7 separate regions of the Homo sapiens genome follow, and all the other regions are linked to region 6. The links are contacts of gene promoters, found by promoter capture Hi-C in blood cells and fetal thymus (Javierre and others, 2016). All regions are on one chromosome and are shown on one strand. Each heading gives the region's core, a stretch centred on a gene start or on the middle of the fragment in contact. The rest is flanking DNA. Distances are from core to core; before and after follow the strand shown. Region 1 overlaps EFCAB11 (EF-hand calcium binding domain 11). Region 2 overlaps LOC124903356 (a long non-coding RNA gene). Region 3 overlaps EFCAB11 (EF-hand calcium binding domain 11). Region 4 has its middle 170 kb from the start of FOXN3-AS2. Region 5 has its middle 180 kb from the start of EFCAB11. Region 6 holds the start of FOXN3 (forkhead box N3). Region 7 has its middle 170 kb from the start of EFCAB11.

Region 1 (4,086 bases), core at 1,535-4,034, 470 kb before region 6:
TCATTCAGTTCACAGCGCGGCAGGCTCTGGGTGAGCACATCCTGTCCACTATCTCATTCGTGGTCACCACCTCCCTGCAAGGTGGGATCTTTTATGAGCCCCATCGATAGATAAGGACACTGAGGCTCAAGGACAGGAAGTTGCACATCTGGGCTCTCAGGCCTTTCTTTTCTTTTCTTTTCTTTTTTTTTGAAACAGAGTCTCACTCTGTTGCCCAGGCTGGAGTGCAGTGGCACAGTCTTGGCTCACTGCAATCTCTGCCTCCTGGGTTCAAGCGATTCTCCTGCCTTAGCCTCCGGAGTAACTGGGATTACAGGCATGCACCACCACGCCTGGCTAATTTTTGTATTTTTAGTAGAGACGGGGTTTCACCATGTTGGCCAGGCTGGTCTCGAACTCCTGACCTCAGGTGATCCGCTGTCCTTGGCCTCCGAAAATGCTAGGATTACAGGCGTGAGCCACCATGCCTGGCCATCAGACCTTTCTTTTCTGTAGAAACCCTTGACTCTAAAATCCAGGAAGCATGACTGTGTCAGGATACTGTTTATATGAACCCTTCTGTCATTTGTCCTCCAGAGAGATACTAACATTCCCCATCCCACCAGGTGGGCTAAGGCTGGGACTGCTTTAACCCTTTCTCTCCTAGAGTCAACACTGGCATGGGCCTGGGTGCTGCTTCCTGCTGGGGGACCTGGGGATTTGGGTCTTGTGGATGAGCCGGACACCCCCCAAGCCCTCTTCTAGCTTGATGTCCCCCTGCTGCAGGGCCTGCTGGATAGCATCAGTGAGGGCGTCAAAGGCCAGGTCCACATTGCAGTTGTTTTTAACAGAGGTCTCCACGAAGGCCATGCCCAGGGAGGCAGCTAGCTCCTCGGCCTCCTGGGCTGAGACACAGCGGGTGCTCTGCAGGTCACTCTTGTGGCCAACCAGCAGGAAGATGACCTTGTCCGGGCCCTGAGTGGCCATGACCTCCTGGTGCCAGTCTTGGATGTGTTCAAAGGACTTCCTGTTTGTCACATCAAAGACCAGCAGGACACCCACCACATTCCGGTAAAAGGACCCGGTGATGCAGCTGAAGCGCTCGTGGCCCGCGGTGTCCCAGAGCTGCAGCTTGACCCGCGGCCCAGCCCGCAGCTGCAGCGCGCGGCGGTAGCACTCGGCGCCCACCGTGGGCTCGGGCTTGGGCTGTGGGGCGCCAGGCGCGCCCGCCACGTAGCTCCGCAGCAGCGACGTCTTGCCCACCGCCGCGTCCCCCAGCAGCGCGACCCGAAATTGGTAGCGGCAGCCCTCGGCCTCCATGGCCGCGTCCCTATCCTATTATCTTTTTAATGCACAGTAGGATTCAGTTTGCTAATATTTTACTTAGGGTGGTGTGTGCGTGTGCGCGTGCGTGTGTGTGTGTGTGTTTGTGTCTAAAATGGAGCTGTAATTTTCCTTTCTTGTTTTGTTTCATTTCAAGCTTATACTGGCCTCATACAGTGAATTAGGGAGAATTCCCTCTTTTTATATTTGGTACAGATTTTGCTATTTTAATATAAATAAAATATTGCCTTGGAAATTTTATAACTTTAATTATAAACATAATCAGAAACCTCTTGCTTCTGACAATACATTGTTTTCTGCTACTTTGAAAAACTCTGATTTCTACCATAATATCTCAAACTCTTAAGTAATTTTAATGAATTAAAAGTACAAAGGTATTAAAAGGTTATAAACATTTATTAAAATCCTCTGTTACATCTTATAGTTTTCTATTCCCTGAAGTCACTTCAAGTTATTTATTTTTAAACATAGAACCTCTAGTTGAAGTCTATTTATGTCTGCTTCTGCTGGTTCTTGCTCATGGTGACTAGTTTCCCTGTAAACTTGTTTGTATTCAACTTTCTGGAGCTCACCGACCTTGAAAAATAATTTATGAGGAATTCCACAAGTCCAGGATGAAATCAGAGTGGTTTATGTGTTTTTGCCAGGCTCCTTGTAGCACAGTCAGTACAGGACTATATTAAAACAAATCCACAGATGGAAGTTTCTGTATTCACTCAAGGTATGTTTAGACCTAGGATCCCAGGGACTCTCCCAGTGAGGGTCAGTCAACACTCATAACTTCTCAGGGGTGAATGATCGTTTTTTATTTCATTTTTCTCTTACTCCTTTGCTCAGCACCAGGGAAACTTTCATGTAGTCCTTTGGATTTCAGCTTAATGTGGGAAAGTTATCCTGTGAGATGATCCAAATTGGCAAAGTCCTGGATCTTCACTTCTGGCCTCGTCTCCCCATGAGGCTACCAGACCGCAGCCCCAGTGCACGATGTGAGTGAATGCCTTCAGGGCAAAGGTGGCTTTGGGATGCCAACTTTCTTTCCACTAACCTCTTTGGGTTCAAGCTAGCCTCAAGAATTTGGCCTGGCAGCTCTTTTTAATTTTTCAGTCCTTTTAAGGTGGTTTTGTTTTAGTGTCTTATCCAGCATCTTTAGTTTTTTGCAGTGGGGAGTTGATCTGAGTATCCAAAAACAGAAACTCATGTGAATTCTTAAATACTTTGTCTCCCAAACTTTTCCTTCTAAATTCTGCTTTCCAAATATTGATTTATTAGGTAGACAATAAGAATTATTAAGTGTTAGAAAAGAGTATCACTTATTTGTAAGAGATATAGAAAATATATAAAATCAGTAATGCATTTCTAAAGCTTAGTAATTCTGGCATTTTAGCTTTACTTTATCTTCTATTGCTGTTTAAAGAATATGACCAAGTATTTCTGACCTTTTATTGCTCTTATATTGAATATCATTTAGAAGTTGTAAGCTAAATATTTATTTTCGTATAACCTAAAACCATAGTATTAGGAAATACTGATGTAATTTAGTGATCATGTCATTGAAGCTTAACATTTTTATTGCATTCATTATTTATGAGAAGAAATCATGCAGTGTTTCTGTTTTTATCAAGGTATTATATCTAAAAATCACTTTTCTTGAACTTGAACTCAATATTTATAAAAGTGCATTTTATAGTACTTATACCTACGACAAAATAATTGATTAACTGTGTCCAAGTGTGTTGATGGGTCCCCAAGGGCCAACGCTAGATTTGATGATTCACTAGAAGGACTTCCAAGACTCAGCCTACAGTCGTATTCATGGCTATGATTTATTACAGTGAAAGGATTCAATGCAAAACCAGCACACGGGAAGGGTACATGGGGTGAAGTCCAGGGGAAACCAGATGCCAGTTTCCCATTGTTCCCCTCCAGTGGAGTCACAGAGAACACAATTCCCCAATAGTAAGCTGTGACCAAACATGTGAAATGTGCCAACCAGGGAAGCTCAGTAGAGACTCAGTGCCCAGGGTTTAATTGTGGGCTGATCACACTGGCATTCTCTGTCTGGCATGTGCCAAAATTTCAGACTCGCAGAAGGAAAGCAAGTATTCAGTGGGAGCCATGTTGTCTGCACAAACAGTTTTAAGCACAGTGATCAACTCTTACCAGTTAATGGTGGTAGGAACCTTCCTGAAATCCAAGTTCCCAGATGCCAGTCAAGGGCCAGGCTTGTAAGCAGAATTGCAGTCAGGTCTGCTGTCTTAACTTTTTTCTACATGTGGAGGTGTGGCTGAAGTTTTTTAAGCACTTACCATTTGGCAAGCACTGTTCTAAGCCCTTTACTCGTTTCATCCTCACAATCACCATTTCATAGATGGGGAACTGAGGGATAGAGAAGTTAAAAAATTTGTCTCATATTTCACAGCTAATAAGTAGTAAAACAGGATTCATAGTAAGGCTTCGAATCCATGATTTTATCCAATACTTTATTTGGGTTTTTTTGAAAATTACTTTCATTTTGTCTCACCTCATGAATAAGATGTTCCATACATTTCCTTAAAATGGTGATTAAAATAAATTGTCAAAAAAAGGAAGAAATTGTCTTCATACAGCCCCTTTTAATCTTCAGTGTTGTTTCATGGCTCTTAATTTTCAGATTTGAAAAATCATTCTAATTATCATGCAAACCCTTCCTGATCTCATAGGCTTTTCTCTGCCTCTGTGTTTCTTCTGGGTTGGAGAATTTGAATTGTTTTTTCCATTTGTCTG
Region 2 (3,890 bases), core at 597-3,096, 400 kb after region 6:
CTCTTTGATTAAGCTGGCGAATATGGCTTTCTCGTGAAGTTTTAAAAGAATATTGGGATGGCAGTGTTTCTTTTCTTTCAGTACCATGTTCAATTTACTCATTTAGACCCTCCTGTTGTGTTGTGGAAGCCATAAAGCCACACAGGGACAGCTGAAACCAGGGATCTGGGTGGCCCCTGGGCTCTGTGTTTCAGTTTCTTCTCTCATGAATGTGTTTGTGTCATTCTCTCCTGCTCAGCATCCTCCAAACATAGGAAATGTGGTGGTGTACAGGCCGGATAGCACGTCACATGTGACAGTTTTGCTAAAAGGTTGAGATTAGTCGTAAAGTGTCTTTATCAAGTCTGTTCTTTGTGACAAATAGTTTACCTGGTTCTGTGAAAGGCTCAAAGGTGTGGTTTCTGCCCTCAGAGAATTTATTCAGCTGGGCATGGTGGCTCGCACCTGTAATCCCAGCACGTCGGGGGCCAAGGCAGGCAGATCACTTGAGCTCAGGAGTTTGAGACCAGCTTGGGCAATATAATGAAACCCCACTTCTTTTTTTTTTATACTTTAAGTTCTAGGGTACATGTGCACAACATGCAGCTTTGTTACATATGTATACATGTGCCATGTTGGTGTGCTGCACCCATTAACTCATCGTTTACATTAGGTATATCTCCTAATGCTATCCCTCCCCACTCCCCCCACTCCACGACAGGCCCCAGTGTGTGATGTTCCCCTTCCTGTGTCCAAGTGTTCCCATTGTTCAATTCCCACCTATGAGTGAGAACATGCGGTGTTTGGTTTTCTGTCCTTGTGATAGTTTGCTCAGAGTGATGGGTGAAACCCCATTTCTACAAAAAAATACAAAAATATTGCCAGGTGTGGTGGTGTGCACCTGTGGTCCTAGCTACTTAGGAGGCTAAGTGGGGAGGATCACTTAAGCCCAGTAGGTGGAGGTTGCAGTGAGCTGAGATTGAGCCATTGCACTCCAGCCAGGGAGACAGAGTGAGACCCTGTCTCAAAGAAAAAAAAAATTACTCCTTGACTACCTAGGCAAAATAAAAACCTGTGAAACACTTACAAAACAATTGAGTTCAGTATATGTATGTCTTATGCCCAAGTTCAAATGCCCATGAGTAGAAATTAGAGGAAAATTATGGTCAAGATGAGAAAAAACCATCCCCCAAAAGGCAAAGAAAGAATCTGATCTGATTGCCATGAAAATTCAACTCTTGATCTCCCAGGACTTGATTATCCATGGTCATAGGAATCAGCCCTTGAATAGGACAGTTCAACTGGGGTCTAAGTGGAAGGCCAGCTGGAGTAAAAGGTGTGTGGGAAAGGGGTGCTCCTCTGCTCTTAGATGTCCCAAAGCCAGTGACTTGGCAGATCTTAGGTGTTCCTTGCTTGGGGCTAATGCTAAAATTAGTGAAGTGGCCCCAAGACTTTTTACTCCAAGCAAAACACTGGAGAGATTGTTAGGAAATTACACTGTTATTTCTACTGAAGAAGCATTTGACAAAATTCAACATCCTTTTATGATAAAAATGCTAAAAAAAAAAAAAAAAAACTAGGGATAGGAAGGAACTTTCTCAACCCTTTAAAAGATATCTATGAAAACCCCACAGCTAACATCATACGTAATAGTGAAAGACTGCTTTCCCCTTAAGACCAGGAACAGGAGAGGGATGTCCACTTTTGCCACTCCTATTCAACATTGTATTTGAGTTCTAGCCAGGGCAATTAGGTAAGAAAAAGAAATAAAAGGTATCCAGATTGGAAACAAAGAAGAAACATATGTAATGACCTTGTATACAGATAATCCTAAGGAATCCACTAAAAATTTATTAGAACAAACAAGTTCAGCAAAGTTTCAGAGTACAAAATCAATATACAAAAATCAATTGTATTTCCATATACTAGCATTGAACAATGAAAATAAAATTGAGAAAACAATTCCATTTCAATAGTGTAAAAAGGAATAAAATACTCAAAAATAAATGAAAGAAGTAGGTTGGGCAAGGTGGCTCACGCCTGTAATCCCAGCACTTTGGGAGGCTGAGGTGGGTGGATCACTTGAGGCCAGGAGTTCGAGACCAGCCTGGCCAACATGGCAAAACTCTGTCTCTACTAAAAAGACAAAAATTAGCAAGGTGTGGTAGCACACACCTGTAGTCCCAGCTACTCAGGAAGCTGAGGTGGGAGGATCGCTTGAACCCAGGAGGCAGAGGTTGCCATGAGCCGAGATGGCACCACTGCACTCCAGCCTGGGAGACAGAGTAAGACACTGTCTCAAAAAAAAAAAAAAAAAAAAAAAAAAAAAAAAAAAAAAAAAAAAGCAAACCTTATATCCAAAAGACTAAAAATCTAAAAATCATTGTTGGAAGAAATTGAAGGTCTAAATAAATAGAAGAATATCCCATGTTCATGGATTAGAAGAGTTAATATTACTCAGATAGCAATATTCCCTAAACTGATCTACAGATTGAACACATTCCCTATTAAAATCTCAGATGTCTTTTTGCAGATATTGACAAGCTGATACTAAAATTCTTAAGGAAGTGTAAGGGACTGAGAACAGCCAACACAATCTTGAAAAAGAAGAACGACATTGGAGGACTCACATTCTCTGATTTTAGAGCTAACTACAATTCTGCAGTGATCAAGAACATGTGGTACTGTCTATATGAGGACGGACAGACAGATCAGTGGAATGGAATTGAGGGTCCAGAAATAAACTCTCACATGCATGGTCAATTGATTTTCAAGATGAGTGCCTAGAAAATTCAATGGGGAAAGAGTATTCTTTTCAACGAATAGTGCTGGGACAACTGGAAGTCCACATGCAAAAGAATGAATCTGGACCCTTGCCTCACATTACATATAAACATGAACTCAAAATGGATCACAGACCTAACTGTGAGAAATAAAACTTTAATCTTAGAAGGCAAACCACTGTGATTTTTATTTTAAAATGATTCCTTAATTATGATACCAAAAGCACAGCAACAAACAGAAAAGGAGATTGTTTGGGCTTTGTCAAAATTAATATTCATGATTAAAAGGATACCATCAAGAAAGTGTAAAGACAACACACAGAATGGGAGAAAATATTTACAAATAATATATCAGTAAGGCACTTGTGTCTAAAATATATTTTAAAAACTCTTACAACTAAGTAATAAAAAGACAATTCAACTTAAAAATGGGCAAAGTTTCTGAAGAGAACTTTCTCCAAAGAAGATACACAAATGACCAACAGGCAAAAATATATTACCATCATTTATCATCAGGGAAATGCAAATTAAACTACAATGAGATAATACTTCACATTCACAGGATGGCTATAATAAAAAAAATCAGACAATAAAAAGTGTTGGAAAAGATGTAGAGAAATTGGAATTATCATACACTGCGGGCAGGAATGTAAAATGGTGCAGCTGGCGAGGCGCGGTGGCTCACGCCTGTAATCTCAGAGCTTTGGGAGACTGAGGAGGGTGAATTACCTGAAGTCAGGAGTTCAAGACCAGCCTGATCAACATGACGAAACCCCATCTCTATTAAAAACACAAAAATTAGCCAGGTGTGGTCGCACGCACCTGTAGTCCCAGCTACTCAGGAGGCTGAGGCAGGAGAATGGCTTAAACCCAGGAGGCGGAGGTTCCAGTGAGCTGAGATTGCACCACTGTACTCCATCCTGGAGGAAAGAGCAAGACTCTACTTCAAATAAATAAATAAATAAATGGTGCAGCCACTTTGGAAAAGTCTGGTAGTTTCTCAGTTAACCATTGTCACCAAGTTAACATATGACCCAACAATTTCACTCCTAGTTACATATCCAAGAAAAATGAAAAGATGTTCAGACAAAAGCTTGTACATGAATGTTCATAGTAGTTTTATTCATA
Region 3 (3,599 bases), core at 528-3,027, 500 kb before region 6:
CTATGTGACCAAAGTGTTTGGGCTACCAGAATCTGTCTTCTGTACTCAGTTCCCCCACCCTGGTCCTGTGTCATTCCAGAATGCCTTCCATTTCATGCAGAGATCTGGTATGCCTGTCACTCAGGTCAGACAATACCCCTATTGCTATCCAGGAGAAATGTAACTCAGCTGGCTTCAGTTCCCTGTTATAGGGATGGCACGTAGTTGACATGCCTGCCACTGACCCCTCCTGTACCTGTGGCTGCCCTCTTCTGCAGAACTCAGAGTTCTTCTCAGTACAATACCCCAAGCCAGCTCATTAGAGTTGTCATATGAGATCAAATCTCTTGCTCTCTCTGTAAGGATGTATTCTCTGTGATGGTTGTACCAAACCTTTCCCACTACTGTGCTTTGCAGGTGATCTTGCCTTTTTCTTCATGGAGAGGATCATGGCCTCTTCCTGGGTTTACTGCCTTCTCTTCATCTCTTTTCTGTATTCCTTTAATTTTCTTTCTTCTTCTTCTTCTTTTTTTTTTTTTGAGATGGAGTCTCGCTCTGTTGCCCAGGCTGGAGTGCAGTGGTGTGATCTCGGCTCACTGCAACCTCCACCTCCTGGGTTCAAGCGATTCTCCTGCCTCAGCCTCCCAAGTAGCTGGGATTACAGACGTGTGCTACCATGCCCGGCTAATTTTTGTATTTTTAGTAGAGATGGGGTTTCACCATGTTGGTCAGGCTGGTGTGGAACTCCTGACCTCAGGTGATCCACCTGCCTTGGCCTCCTAAAGTGCTGGGATTACAGGCGTGAGCCACCACGCCCAGCCTTCCTTTAATTTTATTTCTGAGGAAAAGGGGTCTCTTCTTTTTTTCCTAATTCCTCTCTTTTGTTCTGGTCTTCTCTCTTCCCCTTTTTTTGATCTAAGACATTTCTCCATCAGCCATTCCCACTTCTGTTTATAATGCCTATCCCTGCCTGAAGATATACTCATATCCATCCTAGAAAGCTGCTCTCCCCAACTAAGTACCTCCAGTTGTCCCCTGTCCTTTTTCTCAGGGTTCATTGTTGCCAGCTTCTCACAGCATTCACACCCTGCCTGGAGAGCCAGTCCTCGATTCTCGCTCTTCCCCAGCTTTCATTGCACTGTATTGTCCACTGCAGTCACAGTGCTTCCCGTTCATTGATTACCAACTACGTGTTGCCTTACTTAGTCCTTACAGTGACTCTCCACATCAACGGCATTTCTATCCATTTTACAGTTAAAGCTGAGAGTCCTTTATTGCTCAATTCAAACCAAACAACTAATTCGCAATTATTATTATTTTTTTGGTCAAAGAAGTCACAGAACCAAGCCCCTAGGGCAATCAGAATTTTTTATTTGATTATAATCATGTTGCTGGTACTTGTTAATGGTCAAGTGTTTTCATAACCTCAAAATGTTATTTTCTTGTTTAGAAATGCCACTGCCTAGTAATGATAATGATGGAGTAGACTGAATTTACAGGTAGAATAAAATGTCTGCACTCCCATGTTAATTGCAGCATTATTCACAATAGCCGAGATATGGAAACCCATATTAAGTGCCCACCACTGGATGAATGGATAAAGAAATTGTGGTATGTGTGTACAGCAGAATATTATTCAGCCTTAAAAAAGAAGGAAATCCTGCCATTTGCAACAGCATGGAGGAATCTGGGGACATTATGCTAAGTGAAAGAAGCCAGACACAGAAAGACAAATATTGCATGATATTACTTATATGTGACATCTAAACTAGTCAAACTTGGAGAAAAAGAGTGGAATGGTAGTTGCCAGGGGCTGGGAAGTGGGGAAGATGGGGAGATGTCGGTCAGAGGATACAAAATTTTAGTTACAGGGTGAATGAATTCTAGTGATCTAGTGTACAGCATGGTAACTATAGTTAATGTGTTGTGTACTTCAGATTTGCCAAGGGAGCAGATCTTAAGTGTTTTCAACACACACATACACACACACACACACACACACACACACACACACACACACACACGAAGCATGTCAGGTGATGGATATGCTAATTAGCTTGACTGTGAGTCATTACACAAAGTATACTTTTATAAAAACGTCATCTTGTATACCTTAAATATAGACAATTTTTTGTCAGTCATACCTCAAAAAATGTCTACACAGACTTAGTGAGACTCATGACATGAGTCATGTTAAAGGATATAAGAAACAAATAAAAGTTTAAAAATGCTTTTCTTAACCCAAGTCTTATTGTTAGGATTCCTCATAATCCAGTCATGACTTCAATTAGAAATCCTTGCCGTGGGATATCAAGACTCTTGTCCAAGGAGAGGAAGGGGCAGGAGGGTCTCACTCTTGTTCTCTCCTTGTAAAAATTTAACTCTGTTTGCAGGAGAGAGTATTTGACGAATACATGAACAAATAAATGAATGAAATGAACGAAGGAATAGAATTAATCTGATCAAAGTTTACATGTTCAAATTATGTGTTGAATTGGATAGAGCAGCTGCTGGCCCTTACTTTTTTCTGGGCCTATTTCAAATGGTCTTCTTTACTAGGCTTTCAATTGGAGATTTAGACTTGGAGGCTTTAACAAATATGAATTGAGTACACATTTGTATAGCGATTTAAACTGCTATTATCACAAAATTGTCACAGTAGTTTTAAACTCTGTCAGATGGCTTTTAACCAAACCCTGCCATCAGAGTCAAATTTGATTCTTTGGATGGTTCTTTCCTTTTTTCTGTCTCTTTCACATTGTCTAGTAAAGAAGTTTCTTCAATGACCAGTTTTGTCATAGAGTTGGTGCCATTTATTCTGTGGGTTACAAATTTATCATCACAAGTAGCTAGATGTACTTCTCATAGACAACTTGTATCCACAAATTTGTTGTTTTTTTCTTTTTTTCTTTTTTTTTTTTCTGAGCCATTCTCCCTAGAAAACACAAATTGTTTTGGGGGGAAAAATTAGACTGTTCTTCAGGGGTATTTATTTTCATGATTCACTGTGCAGAGATCGGAGTTGTGCCTTAAGGGCTTGGCTCTGCTCTCTTGATACTGGTATCCATTGCTAGGTGTGGCTCAATTAAACAGGAAGGATGGCTAGATAGCATATATATTCACATGTCAAATGGCAGCATCCATCTTTGAGACAGGAATCTTGGTGGGAAAAGTTCAATTTTTTAACAAATGTGAAATTACCTCCTCAATCATTTTTATTTCCGGTTAAATTAATGTCTTATATAAACACTGTAGGCTAGCATAGTATTTGATACCATTTAGTTTGCTCTCTCTTTTAGTTCCTAATTTTCATTGTAGTTCTCAGTGTTTGCTTTTTGAGTGTGAGTTTATGGCAGAATAAATCAAATTAACTTTGGTGGGTAGATTGAGTTTTCTCTGATGACCTTTACTAACCAAAACATACTTTCTTCTCAGGTGAAAAAGCCAGAGTGGATTATTATTTATTTGACTGACAAAGAAATGCATTTCTAATTTTATTTAGTGACTAAAATAAATTGATTCACCGTAAATTAAATATGAAATAAATGCATGATCCTCTCTTAATGAACCAAACAGATTGAGAGCCGAGCACCTTTGCAGTACACCTCTTTCACCAGTTG
Region 4 (3,642 bases), core at 291-2,790, 330 kb before region 6:
TGAGATTATGCAGCAGGAAAGAAAAGCTCACCCTCACCACCTTAAAAAAAATAAATCTTCATTTTAGAAGTAACATGTGGTTTGGGACCCTGTTGTTCTTCATTTTTATTGACCTTCTCTCTTGGCACGTGTTGAGTTGCACAGCTTTAATTATCACTTATATACAGATGATACTCAAATTTACACTTTATTTCCAGCCCTTTCAGATGATGTCACCCTCGCCCCAAATTTTGGCTCACGTCTTGTCTTGGATGAACCACAACTTTCTCTAATTGAATATGGATGAGTTGAGGCTTTAGCAGTTTAGTTGTAAATAAACTCTAAATGCATTGGCGTTCACTTACCTCGTTGATATCCTGCCTCTCCAGTTAAGAGCAAGGGTGTTCAGTGACTCTGAATTATTCTCCTTCATTCATCAGAGACTGGACAGCCAAGGGATTAATCTCCACAAAAGATCCAAAGACATTTGACAGTTTCCATCACTCCCAATTTTGGCTGGAATTCTGGTTATCTCACGGCTGAAATTTGGTCGCGTTCTTTGGAAAGGCCTCCAATAAACCTCCTGTTTACGGTCTACTTGGAATATGGCTGCCCTTTGGCCTTGCACTGTGTACACAATCCCAGGACATATTTTCCTTCAGGCAGCTGTGCTAATTTCTTGTGCACTGAATAAAATGTAATTTGTTAAGATCTTGGCCAGAGTCTCTGCCTTCATATGAACTAGCTTTTGAAATGACTTAAAATGATGGTCTCTCCCTTTCAAGAGTCGCTTGCTGTTTTGTTTCATCATGTGGTTGGAGATATACTCTACACAGCACCCTGGTACTCATAGAACATGCTATCTTAAACAAAAGTGTATATTTGGAAACACTAGGATGATTTCATCATAGGCATTAGCCCATGAGTGCCTGGCACATAATAACCAATAAGCACTCACTAAATTGTTTTCGAATAAAGACTGAGAAAATGAATTTGTAATCCTTTGACCCATTTGTGGTTTTTGCTGCTGCAGTTATTTATATTTTCATCTACCCCTTAGATTATTATGTAACTGTGTTTGTGTAATGATTATTTCAGCTAGAACATATTGGAAACCTCCATTAACATAACTGAAGGGTATAAAATAGAATGTTTGGAGTTGTCTATTAGCCGATTTGTCTTACGTTGCTTTTCTTCATTATTTCAGTGCTGCTAACAGTTCATTCAGCACGTTTTAATTAAAATCAAACATATGTGGGCCTGCTAAGAACTCTAGTGTCTACTCGTGTAGTTAGACCGGGGTGGCAAACATTTCTAGCAGTGACCATACGATATCTTCCATTCATCTCAGCAGTAATCCTCCAAATCTCATTACTGGGAGGATGGCGGCTGCACTCGGTTAGGCTTTTCTTTATTTTTGCAGAGATGTATTTTTTCAGCCGGTTGCCTTGCAGAAAATCAGCTGTGGCCAGGGGCCTTTCCAAAGCTGAAGTCCCAGCATCTACAGAACTTTCTCCCACTTGTTTTCCATTTTTCCACTACCCATTTGTTCCTGCCCATGGGCTTCTGGCCTGATGATGTTCTAAAGAAATGCATAGTCTTCTGACAAGATCTCTTTTTCAGTTTGTACAAATATGTTAGGTATATTCTTGTGACTCGAGGGGACGATCATGGAACAGGTGCCAGCAGGGAACTTTGTTGATGGGTACGGCATTACCTGCATGAAGTCGCCATGTGTCAGAGTCTGGTCTTCAGCTCTGTAGACCCAGAAGCATGATTCTGCCAGTGTGGCGGGAGTAGTGTAGTCTCTTACTAACTGAGGACACAGAGGAGAATGTATTCATTTAAAATGAAAATGAGAACTATTGAAAAATAGTCACTCATACTGAGTGGCCCTATAGGGTACCATTCGAGAATGGGGACTCTGGAGTGAGACTGCGTGGGGTCAAATCCTGTTTGTGCTGCTCACTAGCTACGTGACCTGGGGCAACATTGCTAAATTCTACTAAGTGTGGCAGATAGACTTTAAGGAGGCCGCCATGATCCCTGCCTCTTCGTATTCACAGCTTGTGTCATGCTCTTCCCCACAAGGGCGGGTGGGACCTGTGATGTGCTTCTAATCAGCGGCAGACAGCAAAGGTGATGGGAAGCATGTGATTATGTTAGAGCATAGCATGTCTCTTTCCTGGGACACATGCCTTTGGAGCCCTGAGTCACCAGCCACCGTGTAAGTGTCCAGATACCCTGAAGCCACCGTAGTGGAACAACCAAATGGAGAGACCAAACAGAAATAGAGAGAGATGCCCAAGGAGTCGCCTGTCTTCATGCTCTAGCCTGCAACTGTTTGGGTCTTCCCAGTCCAGGCCCCAGACAGGTGTATGAAGAGGCCTTTAAAATGATTCTAGCAGCCAGGTGCGGTGGCTCATGCCTGTGATCCCAGCACTTTGGGAGGCCAAGACGGGTGGATCACGAGGTCAGGAGTTTGAGACCATCCTGGCCAACATGAAGAAACCCTGTCTCTACTAAAAATACAAAAAATTAGCCAGGCGTGGTGGCGCAAGCCTATAATCCCAGCTACTCGGGAGGCTGAGGCAGGAGAATTGCTTGAACCTGGGAGGCGGAGGTTGCAGTGAGCCGAGATCACGCCACTGCACTCCAGACTGGGCAACAAGAGTGAAATTCCATCTCAGGAAAAAAAAAAAAAAATTCTAATTCTCCCTACATGTTGACTGCAACCATGGCCAGTCCCAGAGCGAGAACCACCTAGCTGAACTCAGTCAACTTCTAGAACTGTGTGACACGAGAAGAAATGATTGTAGTTGTTGTAAGCCACTATTCTGAGATAACGTCTTAGGTAATCATAGAGAACATGAAAATATATATATCTCCAAACTCACGTGTGTATGCATATGTATTCATGCAGACATGTTTCAGGCTTGGTAATGAGATGGGGTCAATGCTATTGTCACATTTACCTGTTATATCATAAACGCTTACCTTCCGCATGGTCAGCATGTATGGTGTTGATTGTTTATAAATACCAGATCCATGATATACAGTCATTTGTAATTTTGCTGAGCCATGAATTTGAGTCACAGGCTTGTGGGCGGGAGTGAATTTCTTAGCTAGTGAGTGATCCTAGCTGACTGTCAAATAAACAGAGTTTTGTTCTCGATGTGTAGTTCTTTATGCAGTACATTTTATGATGTGATTTTTTTTAAAAGAGATGTGGTCTTGCTATGTCATCCAGGCTGTATTTGAACTCCTGGCTCAAGTGATCCTCCCACCTCAGCCTCCCAAGTAGCTGGGACTACAGGTGCATGCCATTGCACCTGGCTTAATGTGATTTTTTTTTCTTGAGGCTGTGTTCCTTTGTCAAAAAATCAGTTCTGCTAGTCCTAGTGTTCGAAATAAAGAGAAAATAAAGAGGCCTGAGAAAGACATTCCTAGCCCAATAATGAAATTTCAAGGAACAGAATGTCAAATGTGATGATGACTTGGCTTTATGATATGAAAACAGTTGGAGGATGTGATCTCAAAACAAGGAAGCATAATTCATTAAGCCATTTTGCCAAGAACTCTGATCAGAATGTGGTAGCTTATAAAGGCATTAGAAGCTTCAAGATATTATTCACATTTTTCAGTCAAAATATACCAGATTTG
Region 5 (3,940 bases), core at 1,040-3,539, 350 kb before region 6:
TATGTCATTAGGATTCTCCGTCTCCCAACATTGGCTTCTTGCAGGAGTCCAGGGAAGATGGCTTTGAGAAGTTCCAGGCTCACAATTCCCTTCTAGCTCATGACCCAGGAGAAAACAGGAGCTTCTCTCTCTCAAGGCATACTTAACTATGAAGAGGAAATGCAGAATGGTCCCTCTGGGGTTACAGGCTCACCCCGAACCAATCACTCCAAACCTCAGAAGAAGGGAGACTAGAATGAACCTGTAAAATCAGTAGCCATTACAGCCCACTTGGGAAGTTAACCAACATTACCAGGCAGTGAAGACAGTGCTGGTGGGGGGTAAAATCAGGAAGCTGCAATTGAGGTTCAGGGAAGGAAAACCATTCTCAGCTGAGGTCGTTAGGAATGCCTTCATAGGACAGGTAGGATTTGAGCTGGGCGTTGGGAGACCTAAAGTTTAAAAACGGATGAAGAAGAAAATACCGTACTTTCATTCCTGATCATTTTCTAAGGCTCAAGGAAGCTAGCAGCCCAGGGGGATGTAAAGGATCGTGTTGGTTTTCTTCCCTTTGCCACTGGTTCAGGATGAGAAGTGTTTTTCTTTGAGCATCGAGTCCTTCCAGAGACTGACAGAAAGGGAGAGAATTTGGATACGAGGACAAAAATCTCCAGCACAGGCACTCACATGTAAAGCAGGAGGAAAACGCCATGCTTCTCCCCAACCTGAGGAACAGCTGGTAAGTGTAACTGGCAGTTTCCTTAATCAGTCCAGAAAGGCTTGTTATATAAATAAATGATTCAAATAGGAAGTGACTTACCTTAGGAAACATGCCTTGCTCTTTTTTGTTTTTCATGTTTCTAGAATGGTTTCTTTCAGGGTTGGGGTAGAACAGCTTGTAATTTTAATATACATTTATTGATTCTAAAACTGTCTAGTGTTAGGATTTTAGGAATATATTTTTATGAGGATTCAAGTAGCATAATAATTTTCCAACCAGCCATGCTAGCAGAGCCAAGGGCTCAATTCTTTAGGACAGGGGTCGGTCCTTTTATCTGTAAACATCCTGTGCTGTTGGCTGGGTTCAGGTGTATGGTAACTGGCTTGACCTTAAAAGGCGCTGGAGGTGATGGTGGTGACTATGCTACTGCTGCTGCTGATAGCAACTATTGATCTCACAGGTGAGGCCAACTGCAGTATAAACCCCATCCTCTTTATTCTAAGGAACCATTACACTCTCTGTGTATGATGGATGATTGTTTGATGACGGTTAGATCAGATCAGAGATTTATTGTTTCCTACTTGTCGGTGATGTAATGATGACTTTAGGCACAAAGTTCTTTTCATTGATAGGCAAGTTTGCCCCTTTAAGCAGGGAGTGGGAGATGTCCTCGTGTTTGGTTTAGGCTGGGTCTCTCCAGACCAGTTTGTCTTTAGAGCCCATTGGAAGCAGTACAGCAGCTCAGTATCTGTTGTCTGTTCCCACGGTGGCTAGCGGGGATGGGGCTTATCATTTCTATGAGAACTGTAATGAATCATATAGGGGGAATCCTGACTTGAGGCGAATAGAGGCACACAATTAGTTAATTGCATCGATTTTACTGGTGGATTGCTCCCTATCTCAGTTCCCACACATTGCTATGTAGCTTGCAGTGTCTCTTATGGTGGGAATACACTTCTCTGCTCCATTGATATTGGACTTGGCACCATGACTTGCTCTGGCTAATGAGATGCAAGCGGAAGGGAGTCTGTGCGGGTAGGAGCTGAAGCTTTGGAGGCTTCACCCTTGCTTTCTTTCTCATTTATTCCTTTCCCTCTTCCATGGGAATGGCATGTCCCCGATGGGCACCGCTCTTTCAGCCTGGGCTGTCACATGCAATGTGAGTGAGAAATACATACTTGTTATTGTGAGCCACTGAGATGTTAGGAGCACTTGTTACAACATGTAACCTAGTGAAAGCTGACTGATACAAATGGTCACTTATTGTCCTGGTCATTCTGGTGAAAAATGGTCCAACCCTTAAACATGTGGCTATAGACTGAGCTTGTAACAACTCTACCCAAGAAAAACATCCTAAATCGAAGAAAATGAATGAACTACAGTCAGATTAAACCAACAATAACAAGAAGCCAATTTCGTATATCAAATTTGCAAGGGCTATAAAAATAATAGTATTAGAAAGAGTATACCAGAAACAAGCATTCTTAGACATTGTTAGTGGAAGTATAATTAGAACCACAGTGCTGGAGATAAATTCAGGAGCAATACTGATACCAATAATAGATGGTATTTATAGAGTGCCTTTATGTGCCAGGTTCTACTATTTTAAGTTTTTTTTGTTTTTTTTTTGTTTTGTTTTTTTTTAGAGGGAGTCTCGCTCTGTCACTCAGGCTGGAGTGCGGTGGCGCAATCTCGGCTCACTGCAATCTCCGCCTCCTGGGTTCATGCCATTCTCCTGCCTCAGCCTCCCGAGTAGCTGGGACTACAGGCGTCTGCCACCACACCTGGCTAATTTTTTGTATTTTTAATAGAGACGGGGTTTCACCGTGTTAGCCAGGATGGTCTCAATCTCCTGACCTCGTCATCTGCCCACTTCTGTCTCCCAAAGTGCTGGGATTACAGGTGTGAGCCACTGTGCCCAGCCTACTATTTTAAGTTTTATTGACCTTACTTGAATTAATAAAATTGATTTACATGTACTAACGTAATTCTTGTAATCATCTTGTAGGGAAGGTATTATTCTTAAAAATATATATATTTCAAAACCCTTAAAAATGTTTCTTTGCTCTTTGACGCACATCTGGGAGTTTATCCTAAGGAAATAATTACAGATGAGGTGAAAAAGCTTTATCTAAGAATGTTCGTGGCAGAATCGTTCATAATTGTGAAACTCAGAAGCAATATAAACATCCAGAAAATTGGAATCTTTTAAAAAAGTTGAACGCTTTAAAAGAGATATAAAAATATATGGTGGACATGAGAAGACTTTTATTTCCATTAAGTAAAAAAAGCAGCACTTTTTTTTTTTAGTGGCAGGGCACAGTGGCTCACACCTATAATCCCAGCACTTTGGGAAGCCGAGGCAGGGGGACCACTTGAGGTCAGGAGTTCGAGACCAGCCTGGCCAACGTAGTGAAACCCTGTCTTTACTAAAAATAAAAAAAAAATTAGCCGGGTGTGGTGGTATGCACCTGTAGTTCCAGCTGCTAGGGCGGCTGAGGCAGGAGAATCATTTGAACCCAGGAGGCAGAGATTGTGGTGAGCCGAGATCGCGCCACTGCCCTCCAGCCTGGGTGACAAGAGTGAAACTTCGTCTCAAAAATATATATAAAATAAAATTAAAAGTAAAATAATTTAAAAAAGCAGTTTAGTGAAAAATGCAGTGTAGACCTGCATTGTGTAATACAATAGCCACCAGCAACGTGAGCACTTAAAATGTGACTAGTCTGGGCCAGGCACAGTGGCTCATGCCTATAATCCCAGCACTTTGGGAGGCTGAGGTGGGTGGACCACCTAAGGTCGGAATTCGAGACCAGCCTGACCAACATGGAGAAACCCAGTCTCTACTAAAAATACAAAATTAGCCGGGCGTGGTGGCACGTGCCTGTAATCCCAGCTACTCGGGAGGCTGAGGCAGGAGAATCGCTTGAACCTGAGAGGAGGAGGTTGTGGTAAGCTGAGATTGTGCCACTGCACTCTAGCCTGGGCAATGAGAGCAAAACTCCGTCTCAAAAAAAAAAAAAAAAATGTGACTAGTCTGAATTGAGAAGTGCTGTAAGTGAAGACTTAATATGGAAATAAAAGAATATAACAATATTTCATTAATTTTTATGTTGATTCAAGGTTGAAATGATAATATTTGGGGCATATTACTAACATTAATTTCCCCTGCTTTTTTTGTACTTTAAAAAAATGTGGCTACTAGAAAAACTTGAAATTTCATATGTGGCTCATATTTAT
Region 6 (3,821 bases), core at 10-2,509:
CACATCTTTGCTGAAGACTTGTCACCTGCCCTCTTGAACCTTTGTTAGGGGGAATGACTCTCAGATTGGGGGGGGGGGGTCTATTTTTTGAGACAGAAAAAATTTTCAGAAGCCTAACTGGTGTTTCCCTTAGTCCCTCCTTTTGGCTAGGTTTAAAAGTACTGCATGCTAGAAAGCTTTCTCCAGGTCTACTCGCTGTTTTTTTCTGTAGTTTTCAGACCGCTCACGATGTCCTGTCCACTGGCTCAGGAGGGGGTGGCAGGAAGGGTGCCCTGGGCTTCTCCTCTGTAGAGGAACCAACCAATTTGGCTACCTGGGAGTAATGTGCAATCACATTTTTATTTTTGTCACCACCAGGGTGTCCTGTTGGACTCTCTCCTCTCATCCTCTCCCAAGGCGGCTGGTTGGTGTGGCTTTAGCAGTGGGTGCTATTATTTGGAGGTGCCTAGAGACTTAGAGTGGTGGCTGCACCATTTCGCTGGGTGGCTTGCGAATTGTCAGTCTGGTTCCTGAGAGCTCAAACTGAGATGGAAATGAGACCTGTTTTCTCTCTAGGCCGGCCGGGGCGTTCCGCACAACCCACTTGAGAGGCCCCACCGGCGTGGCCTTTAGGACGGTGCCTCTTGTCTTGTAATGGCCACCGGCCCTCCCTCGGGAGACACGCGGCCACCTGGGTGGGACGCTGCGGTGCTTACCTCCGGGACACGAGGTGGTCGCTGGGAGAGGGCTCGGAAGGCCCTGGGGGTCCTATCAGGACGCAGCACTGGGGAGACGTGGAATCTCCTCTTCTCACCCCCACAAGCCTCGCCCGCATCGTAATTCTTTTTATTTTTACTTTCGAGCCATGTAAGGCATGCAGATGGGGTAGGAGCGTTCCCGCGACACGTTGCCAGCAGCGCAGCGCCGGCCCGCTCGTGTGGCCGGAGCCCGGGGAGGGGACAGGGCACGCGCCGCCTGACCCACCTGCCCCACCGCCCACGGTCGCGGCCGCCCTGGGTCGCGGGACCCGCGCCGGTCACCCCCGCCCCGCGGGGCCCAAGAGGCGAGGCCGCGCGGCCCAGCCCCGGCCTCCGCCCTGGCTGAGTGCTGGGGCGCGCGAGGGGCGCGGGCAGGGTCCGCCCCGGCGGGTCAGTGCCCCGCGCCCCAGGCCGCTGGCGGCCAGGCCCACGTTTTCCCTTTCTCCGGCTCCCTCCGCCCTCCGCTCTGTCCCTCCCTCCGCCCTCCTCCCTCCCCGCGCTTCCCCTCCTCCTGCCTGGTCATGTGTCGCCTTTTTTTGTTTGCAGTGGAAACAATTTCTCGCCGCTCGGCGCGCCCCGGCCCGACGCGCCGCGGCGGAGGCGAGCGGGAGGCGGGACGGGGCGGGGAGAGCGGCGGGGCCGGCGGGAGGACGCGCGGCGCGCCCGGCGGACGCCGCAGGTCCCATGCCGCGCCGCGACCCCCGCGCCCCTGCCGCCCGCGCCCGCGGCCGCCCCCCGCCGCCCGCCGCCCCGGGCTCGCCGCGCCGCGCCCGCGCGTCCTTAGCGGGGCCACCGAGCGATGCCCGCCGGGCGCCCGCGAAAGTTTGTCGGCTCCTGCTGAAGGGCAGCGGCGCCCCCGCACCCCCGTGCCCCGCTCCGGCCAGGTGAGTTTGCACCCCGCTCCTGCCGGCTCCCGCGTGGGCTCGGGGGGCACCCGGGGCGGGAGGCGCGTCCGAGACGGTCCTGGAGACTACCTCGCCGCTCTGGGAAGACGAGGGACCCCGCAGGTCCTGGGGGGAGGGTCGGGTGTGGACCCCGGGAGCCCCCGAGCCGGGAAGTTGCCGGGTCCGAAGAGTTTCCTGCCCCGACGTGCGTGCTGCTTCCCGGTGCCTCGGTTTCCGAAAAGACGCCCGCAAGGAACAGAGTTGGTATTGTCTGCGGAGGACGGGGTCCCCGCCGTTCCGGGCCGGGGAGGGGGTTCCGATCAAGTGGAGACCCCAAGATGAGAAACAGGCTCCTAACAAAGATCACCCCCCGGCCAAACTGTGCAGACTTGGCACAGGCAACGAACGTCTCCGGAGACCCCCGAGGCCCGACCCCCCTCATCCCGGCCCTGTTTGAAACCCTCCTTGGGCCCTGGATAAGTTGGGGGACGGCGGGCTTTTATTGATTTGTTTTCGAGGCTCGCCGCGGTGCGGCCAATAAAAGGTTTATGACATCTGACCGGCAGTGAAGGTATGCGAGCTCCCAATTGCCCTGTATATGGGGATAAGAGCAGTTTCCCCCGTTGCCCGGCAACGCCGCTGATTGACGCGGGGTGCAGCCAATCGCCACTCCCGCAGGTCCCCTTGAAATGTTTTTGACAAGTACAGTAGACGAGAGTGAAGCGCGTGCGTGCGCGCGCGCGCGTGCTGGGTGGGCGGGGGTGACCCGGCCCCCCAAACTCGCTACTGCTCGGCTCTGGGAAGATTTCTTAACTTTTTAAAGTTCGCATCGAACATCTGTTCAGAGCTGGGCCAGTAATGTCTTTGTCAGTTATTTGGAGACCTTCTGTTTACTAGGCGAGAAACTAAGCTTTCTTGCCGCATTTTCTCCGTTAAAAAATAAAGAGGGTAACAAAACACAGCAAGTCATAAAAAAAACAAAAGAGGGTGTGTGTGTGTGTGTGTGTGTGTGTGTGTGTGTGTAGAGAAAAGTTGTAAGGAGGTCACCAGTGAATAACTATTTGCGTATCTGGTGGAGCAGCCTTGTTGGCAGCAGATTAAAAATGTTTGCTTAACTGCAACTCACATGATCCAGATTCTTTTTTTTTCCCTCTGAAACAGGAGGAAAAAAAGATTTGGCGAAATCTGTAGTTAGAGTATAATAATGGAAAACTCCTCAGCTGTGGTTTCTGGGAACTGTTTTTTTTTTTTTTTTTTTTTTTTTTTGGTTATTGTTGTTTTGTTTTGTTTTTACATGGAACTGTAGTGATCAGCAGCTCTTCACCCTGTTGGTATAAAATGCGGGATTTATAGGGATGCAGTGAGTGGTTGGAGAGTACGGGGTCCCAGCACAAAACGCACACATGATCCAAGGGTACTGAACTCCCATAACCCTCTCTTCGTGACAATGCCACTTTTTCTCCTAAAACCATATTGCTGGCAGTGTTTGTTTAAAACAAAAGGAAACATGGAGAATAGCGTGTTAGTTCCTCTGGGAAGCTACTGACAAATAAGCAAATTAAAAAGAAAGAGAGCAGCATGTTGTCATAGCAACAGTGCAATTAAATTACTTTACTGTCAGCCATGATATAATTTTCCTGTTTGGAAGCTCAGGAGACATAAAACTTTCATTTAGAGCTAAAGTTGACTTCAGTGGCTGGGTAGTTCTGTTTTATACTCTACTGTGGGCATATGCTGGTCATCAGAAAATTTTCTGATGGGATCTGAGGAAACTTTAAGAAAGACAAGTGGTGCTATAATTCGTTCATAAAGAAGTTAAAAGCAGGATCAGACCAGACTCTGTTGTATCCCCAAGCCAAAAGATGCTAGCTTGTTTTTTGTCTGAAATGTGTCAGGGTAACCTCCTTATTTGACAGAAAGAAATATTCCCTGTGAGTGAACCCAAGACGTCTGGAGCATCCTGCCTGGTCTGTACTGCAATGCCTCATGAAGTTTTCTCTCCTTAAGAGTTGGGCATCTTGGCCAGGCGCGGTGGCTCACGCCTGTAATCCCAGCACTTTGGGAGGCCGAGGCGGGTGGATCACGAGATCAAGAGATTGAGACCATCCTGGCCAACATGGTGAAACCCCGTCTTACTAAAAATACAAAAATTAACCAGTCATGGTGGCACACGCCTGTAGTCCCAGCTACTTGGGAGGCT
Region 7 (4,049 bases), core at 1,127-3,626, 370 kb before region 6:
ACTGGGCAACGCTCACTTATGTATATAAATTCTAAACTGTATCTCACCAATCAGCCTACTTGGTATTCACACCTCTCTTACAGAATTGTAATTTAGGATTAATAAAAATGAACTGTTGGCTACTTTCCTTTCTGTAGCTTATAACTTTTGAGAAATTTGTTTGGAACTGCAGAACTAGGCAGTTAAAAAATTCATATACACACACAAATTGAAATTCAATGGCATTAGGAATAGCAGCTCACAAAGTAACCTTTCTTATAAAACAGGCTTAAATTGGATTGGCCACAGGGATTGAAAAGTAGCTTAAAACAATTTAACATAATAAAATATAGAGTGTCCAATCAAAATGTTTCTTAGATTATTAAGTTGACGAAATACTCAGAAATGTGAATAAAAAAGAATTTATTCTAACTTCAGAGAAAATGCAGATTAATTTATGTGAAAACATAAACTGAAATCCAAATATACTCCCTATTTTATGCTTTACTGATCCTTGAAAAAAATTTTAGCAGAGCGCAAAACAGCTAAGTTGGCTAAAGTATGTGACTTCAGAAAGAGCAATTCCAATAATATTGAATTTATAGAAAAAAATTTTGACCAAGGGGCTGGAAATATATTGTGTGTATTGTCATAGCAACAGTCATTTTAAGGTAGAAGTGAGGTTTGAACATCTTTTTAATTTTAAATAAGGAAGCCAAGTTTAATTTTAAATAACTTTTCTAAGGTCAAATGTGTCAGAGAGAGTTCTTGAGTCCATTTCCTTACCAAGCTTTCACTATTGCTACTTGTCTTGGACGGCCCATGGGATAGGATTTGTTCATTTCTTTCTTTTTTTCCTTCCTTGTTCCCTTTCTTCTTTCCTTCCTTAATTCCTAGAATTGCATATATTGGACCATCTAAGGTTCATTCGATCTGACCTGCTCCTTGGCTGACATTCAAACTTCTATGAGCAGATTTTTCCCCCTTACTACAAATTGAAACCAAAATTCCAGAACACTTTATGTCTTTCATCAAACATAGAAATCTCTGGGCCATGATTTCTTCAAATACTCCATTTACCACAATCTTGAAGAGAATGGCCTTCTCAAACTCCAGTTGTACATACTTTATATCAATAATATTATCTGACACATCTCTCATTGTCTATTCTTCTCCACCACATCTTCATGCTCTTCCTCCCCTTCCTCCTTTCTCTCCCTGTTTCAGTTGGATAATTTCTACTCTCATTTGTTTCTAGGGGCAATGTAAAATGGTACAGCCGCTTTGGAAGACAGTTTGGCAGTTTCTTACAAAGCTAAACATAGTCTTACCACATGACCCCTCAATCAAGCTTCTAGGTATTTACCCAACTGGTTTGAAAATTCCATCCACACAAAAACTTGCATATGAATGTTTATAGAAGCTTTCTTCATCATCACCAAAACCTAGAAGCAACCGAGATATGTTCTTAAGAAGTGAATGGATCTTCTACAAAATACCTGACCAATCCTCCTCAAAACTATCCAGCCCATCAAAACCAAAGAAAGCCTAAGAAACTCCAAGAGGAACCTCTGGAGCCATGGGGACTAAATGTAATGCAATAGCCTAGATGGGATCCTAGAACAGGAAAAGGACACTGTGGGAAACCTAGGAAATCTGAATAAGGTATGAACTTTAATTAATAATGTACCAGCATTAGCTCATTAATTGCAGCAAAGGTATCATACACATACAATGTTCATAATACGGAAAACTGAGTGCGTGATATGTATTAATTTCTATACTATCTTAATTTTTCTATAAACCTAAAACTGTTCTAAAGTAAAAAGTTTATTTTTAAAAAAATTCAGATCTGGCCGGGCGCAGTGGCTCACGCCTGTAATCCCAGCACTTCGGGAGGCCGAGGCGGACGGATCATCTGAGGTCAGGAGTTCAAGACCAGCCTGACCAACATGGAGAAACCCCCGTCTCTACTAAAAATACAAAAAATCAGCTAGGTGTGGTGGTGCATGCCTGTAGTCCCAGCTACTCGGGAGGCTGAGGCAGGAGAATCACTTGAACCCGGGAGGCAGAGGTTGCGATGAGCCGAGATCATGCCACTGCACTCCAGCCTGGGCAACAAAAGCGAAACTCCGTCTCAAAAAAAAACAAAAACAAAAAAAACAGATCTTACTTTATGGTGGATCTTCTATACCTTTCCACTATTTAAATTTATAATAAAAGTTTAAGGTATCAATTAAAAATATGGAAAAAGGAGTACATAACTTTTCGGAATAATGTTATGGAATACTTAGCAAAAAACCCGTGTAGAGCACCACTTGCGGCACTTTTTTTTTTTTTTTGTCTGGGACATGGAGTTTTGCTTCTCCTGCCCAGGCTGGAGCGCAGTGGCGCGATCTCGGCTCACCGCAACCTCTGCCTCCTGGGTTCAAGCGATTCTCCTGCCTCAGCCTCCTGAGTAGCTGGGATTACAGGCATGCTCCACCACGCCCAGCTAATTCTGTATTTTTAGCGGAGATGGGGTTTCATCGTGTTGCCCAGGCTGGTCCTGAACTCCTGAGCTCAGGCGATCCGCCCTCCTCGGCCTCCGAAAGTGCTGGGATTACAGGCGTGCGCCACCGCGCCCAGCTAATTCTGTATTTTTAGCAGAGATGGGGTTTCATCATGTTGCCCAGGCTGGTCCTGAACTCCTGAGCTCAGGCGATCCGCCCTCCTCGGCCTCCCAAAGTGCTGGGATTACAGGCGTGCGCCACCGCGCCCGGCCACCTACGGCACCTTTTTGGGACCCTCTGACTGCAGCCTCAACGATGGCCTCCCTAGTAGGGTCAGGCCTTTGCCGTAGGGAAGTGTGTTCACAGCCTCTTCTATGACTCGGATTGGTTTCTGACCAAGAAGAGACCTCATATAGTTTCAAGTATGTTTGAATTGCATTTTGAAAACATTCAAAAAAAGAAAGTCTCCAGCTTTCTATTATATTGCTTTCAATATACGTTTCAAGGAAAGAAATCCCTTAGCTTTGGACCTATTGAAAACAAAGGCCTTTCTACTTCTTTTGAACTTGGTAATTTCTCACAGTGCTGAGAAAACTGTAAGGTGCCATGCACCCATAAGGTGTAGTTCCTAGATTCACCCTGCAGCAGGTCTCGAAAGGGCTGCTAATGAGTGGCGCACACCCGCATACTGGGAGGAGCCCTCCCCCTGTTCTCTCTGCAGTCCTGGTGGCTTGGCCTCAGCTTGGCACTGAGTCACAGCCTCGGAAAACCAGCATGGTCATTGTGAGATTACTCAGGGACTAATTTGATTTTACAAAGTACATGTTTTCTACATTAAAGCTGTAATGGTTAACAAGCCTAATTCTTCCTTTAAGCTTTTACTATATAGACAGATCCTATTCTTCTATTTATAAATCTGGAAAGTTGTATGAATCACTCTAAGGTGGCTTTCATAATTCTGTTACATTTCCATACATTTTACCTGCATGTATAAAATATATATTCAGTTATCTTTCTGAATTAGTCAGGGTTCTCTATAGGGACAGGACTAATAGGATATATGTATATACGAAAGGGAGTTTATTAAGGAGAATTGATCCACATGATCACAAGGTGAAGTCCCACGATAGGCCGTCTGCAAATTGAGGAGCAAGGAAGCTGGTCGTGGCTCAGTCCAAGTACCAAAACCTCAAAAGTAGGGAAATTTACAGTGCAGCCTTCAGTTTGTGGCCAAAGGCCCGAGAGCCACTGGTGAAAAAGCTGAAGAACTTGGAGTCTGATGTTCCAAGGAGGGCAGGAAGCATCCAGCACGGAAGAAAGATGGAGGCCAAGAAGACTCAGCAAGTCGGCTTCCCCCACCTTCTTCTGCCTGCTTTATTCCAGCCGCACTGGCAGTTGATTGGATGGTGCCCACCACGTTGAGGGTGGGTCTGCCTCTCCCAGTCCACTGACTCAAATGTTAATCTCCTTTGGCAACACCCTCACAGACACACCCAGGAACAATACTTTGCATCCTTCAATCCAATCAAGTTGACACTTAATATTAACCATCACACTTTAGTTGATTGATCTTTTTAG

Evidence for each region. Contacts are between HindIII fragments. The CHiCAGO score rates a contact against its expected background, and 5 or more counts as called.
Region 1: a fragment that was not itself captured here is called in contact with the fragment with the promoter of FOXN3 in region 6 in 6 of 17 cell types (megakaryocytes, endothelial precursors, M1 macrophages and 3 more); the score reaches 7.7 in megakaryocytes.
Region 2: a fragment that was not itself captured here is called in contact with the fragment with the promoter of FOXN3 in region 6 in 1 of 17 cell types (M2 macrophages); the score reaches 5.4 in M2 macrophages.
Region 3: a fragment that was not itself captured here is called in contact with the fragment with the promoter of FOXN3 in region 6 in 14 of 17 cell types (megakaryocytes, endothelial precursors, M1 macrophages and 11 more); the score reaches 17.8 in megakaryocytes.
Region 4: a contact is called between a fragment that was not itself captured here and the fragment with the promoter of FOXN3 in region 6, in 9 of 17 cell types (activated CD4 T cells, total CD4 T cells, naive CD4 T cells and 6 more). The highest score is 12.8, in activated CD4 T cells.
Region 5: a fragment that was not itself captured here is called in contact with the fragment with the promoter of FOXN3 in region 6 in 15 of 17 cell types (naive CD4 T cells, naive B cells, total CD8 T cells and 12 more); the score reaches 18.4 in naive CD4 T cells.
Region 7: a contact is called between a fragment that was not itself captured here and the fragment with the promoter of FOXN3 in region 6, in 4 of 17 cell types (naive CD8 T cells, total B cells, neutrophils and 1 more). The highest score is 7.2, in naive CD8 T cells.

What each region holds. Positions count from the first base shown.
Region 1 is chr14:89,889,007-89,893,092 of GRCh38, reverse strand. The region is part of intron 5 of EFCAB11 (EF-hand calcium binding domain 11); the gene reads left to right. It also overlaps the pseudogene RAB42P1. Among named protein-coding and RNA genes, the nearest start is that of EFCAB11, 64 kb to the left of the region's middle. RefSeq lists an enhancer at 1-286. The HindIII fragment of the contact is 194 bases long and covers 2,688-2,881 here.
Region 2 is chr14:89,018,540-89,022,429 of GRCh38, reverse strand. All of the region lies in intron 1 of LOC124903356 (a long non-coding RNA gene), which reads right to left. Among named protein-coding and RNA genes, the nearest start is that of TRA-AGC15-1, 41 kb to the right of the region's middle. The HindIII fragment of the contact is 4,022 bases long and covers 1-3,857 here.
Region 3 is chr14:89,915,458-89,919,056 of GRCh38, reverse strand. The region is part of intron 5 of EFCAB11 (EF-hand calcium binding domain 11); the gene reads left to right. Among named protein-coding and RNA genes, the nearest start is that of EFCAB11, 37 kb to the left of the region's middle. The HindIII fragment of the contact is 4,035 bases long and covers 1-3,599 here.
Region 4 is chr14:89,747,628-89,751,269 of GRCh38, reverse strand. No RefSeq gene overlaps it. Among named protein-coding and RNA genes, the nearest start is that of FOXN3-AS2, 170 kb to the right of the region's middle. The HindIII fragment of the contact is 4,117 bases long and covers 1-3,598 here.
Region 5 is chr14:89,768,251-89,772,190 of GRCh38, reverse strand. No RefSeq gene overlaps it. Among named protein-coding and RNA genes, the nearest start is that of EFCAB11, 180 kb to the left of the region's middle. RefSeq lists an enhancer at 3,900-3,940. The HindIII fragment of the contact is 1,077 bases long and covers 1,751-2,827 here.
Region 6 is chr14:89,414,671-89,418,491 of GRCh38, reverse strand. FOXN3 (forkhead box N3) reads left to right here and starts at 1,259. Exons shown (of 6, transcript NM_005197.4): 1 at 1,259-1,621. FOXN3-AS1 (FOXN3 antisense RNA 1) reads right to left here and starts at 1,138. Exons shown (of 2, transcript NR_036500.1): 1 at 696-1,138. RefSeq lists silencers at 878-1,167, 1,208-1,417 and enhancers at 1,113-1,407, 1,032-1,564, 1,565-2,098, 2,113-2,407. The HindIII fragment of the contact is 2,355 bases long and covers 179-2,533 here.
Region 7 is chr14:89,786,898-89,790,946 of GRCh38, reverse strand. No RefSeq gene overlaps it. Among named protein-coding and RNA genes, the nearest start is that of EFCAB11, 170 kb to the left of the region's middle. The HindIII fragment of the contact is 1,944 bases long and covers 1,405-3,348 here.